Regions from separate parts of the Homo sapiens genome. Here region 2 is linked to region 1. Evidence: promoter capture Hi-C in human tissues and cell types (Jung and others, 2019). All regions are on one chromosome and are shown on one strand. The core of a region is centred on a gene start or on the middle of the fragment in contact, and the rest is flanking DNA. Distances in the headings are between cores, read along the strand shown.

The links. Contacts are between HindIII fragments. The study calls those that stand out against the background at their distance.
Region 2: a fragment that was not itself captured here is called in contact with the fragment with the promoter of DSG4 in region 1 in 2 of the 25 tissues and cell types used here (heart left ventricle and small bowel).

What each region holds. Positions count from the first base shown.
Region 1 is chr18:31,374,474-31,378,909 of GRCh38, forward strand. DSG4 (desmoglein 4) reads left to right here and starts at 2,304. Exons shown (of 16, transcript NM_177986.5): 1 at 2,304-2,486. The coding sequence starts at 2,439. The region is part of intron 1 of DSG1-AS1 (DSG1 antisense RNA 1); the gene reads right to left. The HindIII fragment of the contact is 6,705 bases long and covers 1-4,436 here.
Region 2 is chr18:31,289,302-31,293,737 of GRCh38, forward strand. No RefSeq gene overlaps it. Among named protein-coding and RNA genes, the nearest start is that of DSG1, 27 kb to the right of the region's middle. The HindIII fragment of the contact is 4,429 bases long and covers 1-4,005 here.

The DNA of each region.
Region 1 (4,436 bases), core at 1,054-3,553:
ACCATCCACTATTTTGCCTTCACATACGTAGCTAATAATGAAAAGTGGCTTGGTATTTATATAAACTGACTATGAATGAGGAGATGGAACTCTTGCCTATCTTTGACCCTAATAAACCATACAGCCTCCCTAGACTATCACTATCACATGGGTAGGAGAGAGGCAAGATAGGAGAGATTGGATTATATGATCTCTGTGGTATCTTTAAGCATTAATGTTTTATGCTCTGTTTCTACAATGACTGATACTCTTCAAGAGAAACGGAAGTAGCTACTCTTTATCTACACAAGCTCAGAACCATAACCAAGTTTTGTCTTTGGGAATTCCACTGTAAAATCATCCATCCCCTGTGGGAAACAGTAGCTCACACCTGTAATCTCAGTACTTTAGGAGACCAAGGCAGGAGGATCACTTAAGCCCACGAGTTTGAGACCAGCCTGGACAATATAGCAGGACCTTGTCTCTACAAAATATTTTTAAAATTAACCAAGTGTGGTGACATGCACCTGTAAACCCAAGTACTTGAGAGGCTGAGGTGGGAGGATCACTTGAACTCAGGAGGCAGAGGTTGCCGTGAGCTGCACTCAGACCACTACTGCACTCCAGCCTGAGAAGCAGAGCAAGACTCTGTCTCCAAAAAAAACTTTAAAGCAAAAGATCATTCCCACAAATCTCCAAGGAGTAAACAGAAATGAAATGATGGGGCTTCAGGTAGTTCCTCCTTAGTTACTGAAGAATCTTTTAAATATGTTCATAATTATAATCTGGATTCAAATTCTGGATACCATTGAAATCAGGAGTTTCAAATGGAGAAAGCTAGAGGTACCCACATAAATGATCTAGTACCTATTTCTATTGCTTCCTGTTTCTTTTCTTTAAAACTCATCCTATAAATAGCATTCAAGTAGATAGAAAATCTTATATTTAGAAGAAAATATAAGAAAAATCTTATATGTAGAAGAAATCATCTATAGTGTAAACAAAAGATAGAGACCTTTGTGAAATATCTCCTTCAAACACAACAATAGAGAAGAATGTTGTTTTTCCCTTGTAAAAAGCAATGTCACTTAAAGACCTGGAGTTGTTTCATTAATTCTCTTAGGCAAATTAAATTATCTAATTCAACATGACATGAAATAATGCAAAAGTAAATTACTTTATCTGGCTTCCAAAAATACTAAAACTACTTTTCTCAAGAAACTAAGCAATACTTAGAATACATTCTATTACCAGGGTCAACCTTGTTTCTGAATTACAGTGATGGGATAGTGAAGACAGGAGGCAGTCTCCCTTTGAAATTCTCCAACCAACATGTATTATCTATCAATCAGAGAACAGTTAACTGCATTTTCTTTTAAGTTTATTGATGTTGCTGCCAGCCTGCAATGTTTGCATCAGGACACTCTATACCCTGTTTCAAACCCATACTAACAAAGGAAAAGGGAGACACGAAAAAGGGAAATAATATTCAAAAATATCCAGATCCCACTCTGGGCTTTTTTTCATTAAATTCTCACGTTTCCAACTTCAGTTTCTCCTTAATAAATATTTGTGGTGGTGTAAAATGTGTTCCTCACCCACATTATGTACTTTTTATCAGTGGTAATACTATGAGAAGTGAGAATGTTGTATTGTAGTTACTTTAAAATGATTTTGTAAATATCATATTGTAGAGGTTTGACTGAATAATCAAGAAAGAAAATGCCAAAGTATGGAAACAAACATACTGGTACTAGTTAAATCAGAGTTCCTTCATCTTAACTTTGTTATTTCAGAAAATCTTTAAAATTGAGAGTGCGGTTCAACCACAAGACATTTTAAAGAGAGAAGCAGGACTCAACTGAATTGAAATGAGCGTCATTATTCTATCTTTCTTCCTATACCATACTTGAGTCCTGATGACTTTCAACAATGGCCTCTGCTAAAAGTATCATTCCTTGAAGTGGGTTCTGCAGTGGACATGTGTGTGTATGTGTTGTCAGTATATGTAATTTTGCTTTTACAATGTTGGCAGTAAGAAGAAGCCTTCTAATTTTATTCAGCATGATGATAGGCCCTAGCATTTTAATTATTTTTTATGTTGTGAGTAATTTATTATTCACTGGCTATCTTCCCTGTAAATCTTGTCCTCGCTCTGTAAGGTTTTTCTTTGGTGTCCAACAAAGGGTTTCATTGCAATAAGAATCAAGGTGTGTCTAAATTCTTACCCAGAGCCCAAACAATGCCAGTCTTCCAGACCAGCCTGGGAGTTTGGGGTGGGGAAACAGTCATTATAGAATATCTTCATCTCTCTGCCCAGAGATCACCACAGTTATCACCCATGCCCTCCTAAAAGGGTGTCTCAAAGCATATCTTTCTGTAGAGCAGAATTCGGAACTGAGAAGACGAGGGCTCAAATTGAATCTCACAGGATTTGCGTGCAAGAGAAACCCAAAGGAATGGATTGGCTCTTCTTCAGAAACATTTGCCTTTTGATCATTCTAATGGTAAGTAGAATTTAAAGAGGTGGGAAGGAAATGCAGCCTCAAGGTCTTGTCTCTGTCAACTGTCGGGCTTTCTACATGGGATTTATTCCATTTTTAATCTCCTTCCTGCAAAGAGAGTTCTAGAAGTCCAGCCTCTGTTAATTTCAAACAACTCTCTCCGCCTTGAGGAACAAAATGCCATAGAGAAGCGGGGTGAGAATCTGGCTGAATTAAATTTATATGCCCTCAGAGACATAATCTACTTCACTTTGAGTGTTAGGACTATTCTAAAATTTTAAATTGGAAATAAAATTCATATTCTATGATCATATAAATAAATCAGATAGATTGCTGTGAAAACTGCCAGTGCAAATGGGTTCTAAATTTGAAGGGAAGTTAATCAAACCCATTTCTTTTCAATAGTTATTTCCCTATGAGTTTCTTTCAAAGTGGAGGAATGATAGCCATGTTGAAATTACATTGCAACTAATGATGACATACTAAAGTCATGAGAACTTTTTCCAGTCAGATATTGCTAAAGAAAAATGAAGCCCAGCCATCAAGACAAAACTTTTCTGGAATTATGAATGCATTCCTACAGACCAGCAAAGAAATATTTAAATGACTTATTTCTTTACAGTAAACATGGCATCTTGGATATTATATTTCTTTCCTCTAACCTTTGGGTGCCCAAGGTGTGACATGATTTCCAGACAGGCAGCATGCATAGCAAATATCCTACCCTAGAAAGAGATAATTCCAACTCCAAAGAAGAACAAAGTTCCAGTTGGCCAATCAACAAACTATTGCCAATTCTGGGAGGGTAAGAGGACAGGATTATTAGGAACTGTACAAATTTTTCAAAGTAAATTAAGACAAATGCATTATAGTTGGCCACACTTCAATCTCCCAGGAGTATCCAGGTTAGCGCTACAACCTAAGCTTAGAAAGTGATTCCCATCCTATTCTTAGGCAAGTGGCAATTATACCAGACTCCTCTGAACATCAGTTGTAAGAGACAGAGAGTAGCTAGGGCTGGGAGAGATGGGAGCACGTCATTGTCCAAGAGGCACAGTGAGAGCTACTCTTCTGGAATTCACATTTCTAAACTTCAAGAGCAGTGCGGGAGCCGAACACTGCCAAAGGGCACACAACCCCAAGCTCAAAAGGGAACGTGACAACAGTGGTAGAATATTGCATCCTCTGAGTTTAGGAGACAGATTATTAAACAATACCATTTTTGAAAAATATTTTTAAACTTAAAAACATAAGACGAAGGGCAATATTCTGTTACAATGATCATTATTTATTTACTAAATAAAATAAATGTTACTAAAAGAAGAGGCAAGAATCGGACTTGGTCTTCAATTGAAATAGTAAGTTATGAGGATATACCTCTTGTTACTCTTCTACCGAGTATATTCATGCTTTGACTCAGATAAACTTTTGGTTTTCTGTAAGGAAAATTGTATGTGTCAAGATTTTAGAGGCCACTTCTGAGCACTAAATCTTGCCTCCCATTGCCTTCTGCACAGGCATGATTTATGATAATATTATTTAATTGAAGAGTTGATTCTTCTCCTTGATCTTGAAAGAGTATTATACTTCAGACTCTCAGGATCTTTTTTTGGTAGTATTTATTTATTTTCCTTGGTAATACTAGCGTTTTTAATACTTAATTCCTCCTACTCCTCATTGATATTGAAGTCTTTGTGTTTGACATTTCACGGTAATTGTGAAAAAGTTCTTTAAGTATTTTTTTTCTTTATGCTTGTCTAAAAGATCCCTTACCATATCAATTAATAGTGTCTGGAATTGGGAGGTAGAGACTTCTGGCATATTTCAAAATTGAAACAAATACAAGAATTGTTTAAGGAGAATCAATGAGATGTTATAGATATTATAGGAAAGTAGACATGCCTACTTCTCTTTAATTTCCTGAACTTGAACTCTGCCCCTTCTTCATTAACT
Region 2 (4,436 bases), core at 541-3,040, 86 kb before region 1:
ACACCAAGATTGAAAAGAGAAAGAAGTTGAGGGATAGTGAGAGAAGTTGGAGAAGACAGTAAAGAGAGGCCACTTACCCGATTTAAAATTGGTGAGATGTTCCTTGGGCTGGTTGTTCTGAGGACCAGAGGTCGTAGGTGTATCTTTCTCATGGAGCAAAGAGCAGGAGGACAGGGGATTGATCTCCCAAGGGAGGTCCCCCAGTCCGAGTCACCACACCAAATTTCACAAGCGTCCATGTGAAGAGACCACAAACAGGCTTTGTGTGAGCAACAAGGCTATTTATTTCACTTGGGTTCAGGTGGGCTGAGTCCAAAAAGAGAGTTAGCAAAGAGAGAAAGGGGTGGGGCCGTTTCATAGGATTTGGGTAGGTAGTGGAAAATTACAGTCAAAGGGGGATGTTCTCTGGCTGGAAGGGGTGGGGGTCACAAGGTACTCAGTGGGGGACCTTTTGAGCCAGGATGAGCCAGGAGAAGGAATTTCACAAGGTAATGTCATCAGTTAAGGCAGGAACAGGCCATTTTCACTTCTTTTGTGATTCTTCAGTTACTTCAGGCCATCTGGATGTATATGATGTGCAGGTCACAGGGGATATGATGGCTTAGCTTGGGCTCAGAGGCCTGACAATTACCCTGCCAGAAACTCCAATACTGTGTTGAATAGGATTGGTAAGAGAGGGCATTCTTGTCCTGTGCCAGTTTTCAAGGGGAATGCTTCCAGCTTTTGCCCATTCAGTTTGATATTGGCTGTGGGTTTGCCATATATGGCTCTTATTATTTTGAAGTGTATTCCTTCAATACCTAGTTTATTGAGAGTTTTTAACATGAAGGGATGTCGAATCTTATCAAAGACCTTTCTCCATCAATTGAAATTATTATGTGGTGTTTGTCTTTAGTGCAGCTTATGTGATGAATCACATTTGTTCATTTGCATATGTTGAGCCAACCTTACATCCTGGGGGTGAAGCCAACTTGATCATGGTGGATAAGCTTTCTGATGCTCTGCCGGATTCAGTTTGTCAATATTTTACTGAGAATTTCTACACTTATGTTCATCAGGGATATTGGCCTGAAGCTTTCTTTTTTTGTTGTATCTCCGCCAGGTTTTGGTATCAGATAATGCTGGCCTCATAGAATGAGTTGAGAAGGAGTCCCTCCTTTTCAATGTTTTTGAATAGTTTCAGTAGAAATGATACCAGCTCTTTTTTGTACTTCTGGTAGAATTCAGCTGTGAATCTGTCTGGTCCTGGCTATTTTTTTTTTTTTTTTTTTTGGTTAGTTGGGTATTTATTACTGCCTTAATTTCAAAATTCATTATGGGTATATTTGAGGATTCAATTTCTTCCTGCTTCAATCTTTGGAGGGTGTATGTGTCCAGGAATTTATCCATTTCTTCTAGATTTTCTAGTTTATGTGCATAGAGGTGTTTATAGTATTTCCTAATGGTTACTTGTATTTCTGTGGGGTCAGTGGTGATTTCCCCCTTATCAAGTCTGATTGTATTTATTTGATTCTTTCTTTTCTTCTTTATTAGTTTAGCTAGTGGTCTATTTTATCAATTTTTTCAAAAAAAAATCTTCTGGATTTGTTGACATTTTGAAGGGTGTTTTTTTTTTTTTGTCTTTATCTTCTTCAGTTTAGCCCTGATCTTGGTTATTTCTTGTCTTCTGTTAGCTTTGGGATTGTTTGCTCTTGGTTATCTAGTTCTTTTAGTTGTGATGTTAGGTTGTTAACTTGAGATCTTTCTAGCTTTTTGATGTGGGCATTTAGTGCTATAGATTTCCCTCTTAACACTGCTTTAGCTGCATCCCAGAGATCTTTGGTACATTGTCTCTTTGTTTTCATTAGTTTCAAAGAACTTCTTGATTTCTGCCTCAGTTTCATTATTTATCCAGGAGTCATTCAGGAGCAGGTTGTTTAACTTCCATGTAGTTGTGTGGTTTTGACTGAATTTCTTAATCTTGAGTTCTAATTTGATGGTGCTGTGGTCTGAGAGACTGTTTGTTATGATTTTGGTTATTTTGCATTTCCTGAGAAGTGTTTCACTTCCAATTATATAACCAATTTTAGAGTAAATGCCATGTGACGATGAGAATAATGTATATTCTGTTGTTTTGGGGTGGAGAGTTTTGTAGATATCTATCAGGTCCACTTGGTCTAGAGCTGAGATCAGGTCCTGAATATCTTTACTAATTTTCTGTCTCAGTGATCTGTCAAATATTGTCAGTGGGGTGTTAAAGTCTCCCACTATTATTTTGTGAGAATCTAAGTCTCTTTGAAGGTCTCTAAGAACTGTTTTATAAATCTGGTTGCTCTTGTATTTGGTGCATATATATTCAGGATAGTTAGATCTTGTTGAATTGAACCTTTTGCCATTATGTAACACCCTTCTTTGTCTTTTTTGATCTTTGTTGGTTTAAAATCTATTTTGTCAGAAAGTGGGATTCTGACCCCTACTTTTTCTGTTTTCAATTTGCTTGGCAAATTTTCCTCCATTTCTTTATTTTAGGCCTATGTGTGTCTTCACATGTGAAATTGGTCTCTTGAAGACAGCATGCTGATGGGTCTTGGCTCTTTATCCAGCTTGTCATTCTGTGTCTTTTAATTGAGGCATATAGCCCATGGACATTTAAGATTAGTATTGTTACTTGTGAATTTGATCCTGTTGGATCAAATAATGCTAGTTGGTTATTTTGTAGACTTTTTTATGCAGTTGCTTCATAGTGTCACTGGTCTGTGTATTTCAGTGTGTTTTTGTAGTGGCCAGTAATGGTTTTTCCTTTCCAAATTTAATGCTTCCTTCAGGAGCTCTTAAAAAGCAGGTCTGGTAGTGACAAATTCCCTCAGTATTTGCTTGTCTGGAAAGGATCTTATGTCATTTCAGTCTTACGTTCAGCACCTCAGCATACATTGAGGTCAAGAGATAAATGTGTATTATGGACAACATGGTATATTCATGGTTGTTTTTTCCTCTAGGGCAACCAATCTTTTGTTTCCTGGACCAAACTTGTCTACCTGACTCTTTTCCCCTATGAGATATATAAGATTGTCTTCTGGGTAGCTCATCATTCTCTCATGCATACCTGAATTGCTGGTGGCTCATCCCATACCTACTGAACCTGGAGGCATAAATCTGGGTCAAAGAAAGGGAGACTTCACTACATTTAGATTCATACTTCCTGCAAGTTACTAGATCTTGCATTTTAAGAGAAGCTACAAAAGGAAAGAATACAATTTATGTAGTTACATATTTATTCATTGAAATTACTAAATGCTAAAAGAGATATCCTTGAAAAAGAAATGCTTTAGAAGTTCTAAAATGAAAGAATTGATATCATTTTATTTATTTCCCTCTAGTAACCTTTGAAATATTTTATTTTTGCAATCACGTGAAGTCATTTTTTTTTTTTTGAGATGGAGTCTTGCTCTGTCACCCAGGCTGGAGTGCAGTGGCATGATATTGGCTCACTGCAACCTCCACTTCCTGGGTTCAAGAGATTCTCCTGCCTCAGCCTCCTGAGTAGCTGGGATTACAGGCACCCCACCCCCACCACACCCAGATAATTTTTGTATTTTTAGTAGAGACACGGTTTCACCATGATGACCAGGCTGGTCTCAAACTCCTGACCTCAGGTGATCCACCTGCCTCGGTCTCCCAAAGTGCTGGGATTATAGGCATGAGCCACCATGTCTGGCCATGAAGTCATTTTTAAAAGGTTACATTGATAATTGATATTTGGTTGCAAAGAAAGGCAGATACTTCATCCTAAGGAAAGAGACAAGCAGGCAAAGCTCAACCCAGAAACAAAGCCTTGGTCTGGGAAAACCATATAGTGTGTGCCACTCTGAGCTCTTCCTGGCCCACCCATGTCTGAGATTCAGGGAGACAGTGGTACAAAACTCTTTAGCTTTGAAAGATATTATAATGCATCATTAATTTGATATTCCCCCATAAGAAAAGAGGGCAACATTTTATTTTCTTCACCCCGTATGGCTGCATCCCAGGATCTAGCTCTCCCGAGTGGGACAGTGGGTGTTGTCTGGGGAAGAGCAGTGGTGCTTAAGCATCTGACCAGATCTGCTCATAAACACTTGAATGAATTCCACAAGAAATCACAGAAATGCTTGGTGGTTGAAAGGATGGTCTTTTTAGTGATCCAGGGGTGAGTTTTAGCAGATGGGACCTGTATCGGTTAAAAGATCAGTTACAATTAAAAGGACCAGAAGTACTTTTACTTTTTCTCACAGACTGCCTTTTTGTGCTTCTCTACAATTTGTTTATCAGATTTAATGGATAACTACAACCTTTGGCTAGTTTCCTGGATGGTTCAATATCTCCTTAGAAAAGTCTCCAAACATATCACACTGAAAATCACATCAATACCCTTTGTGCTTTTTTAATTCCTTATGAAGACTACAATTAGATAAAGGCTCATC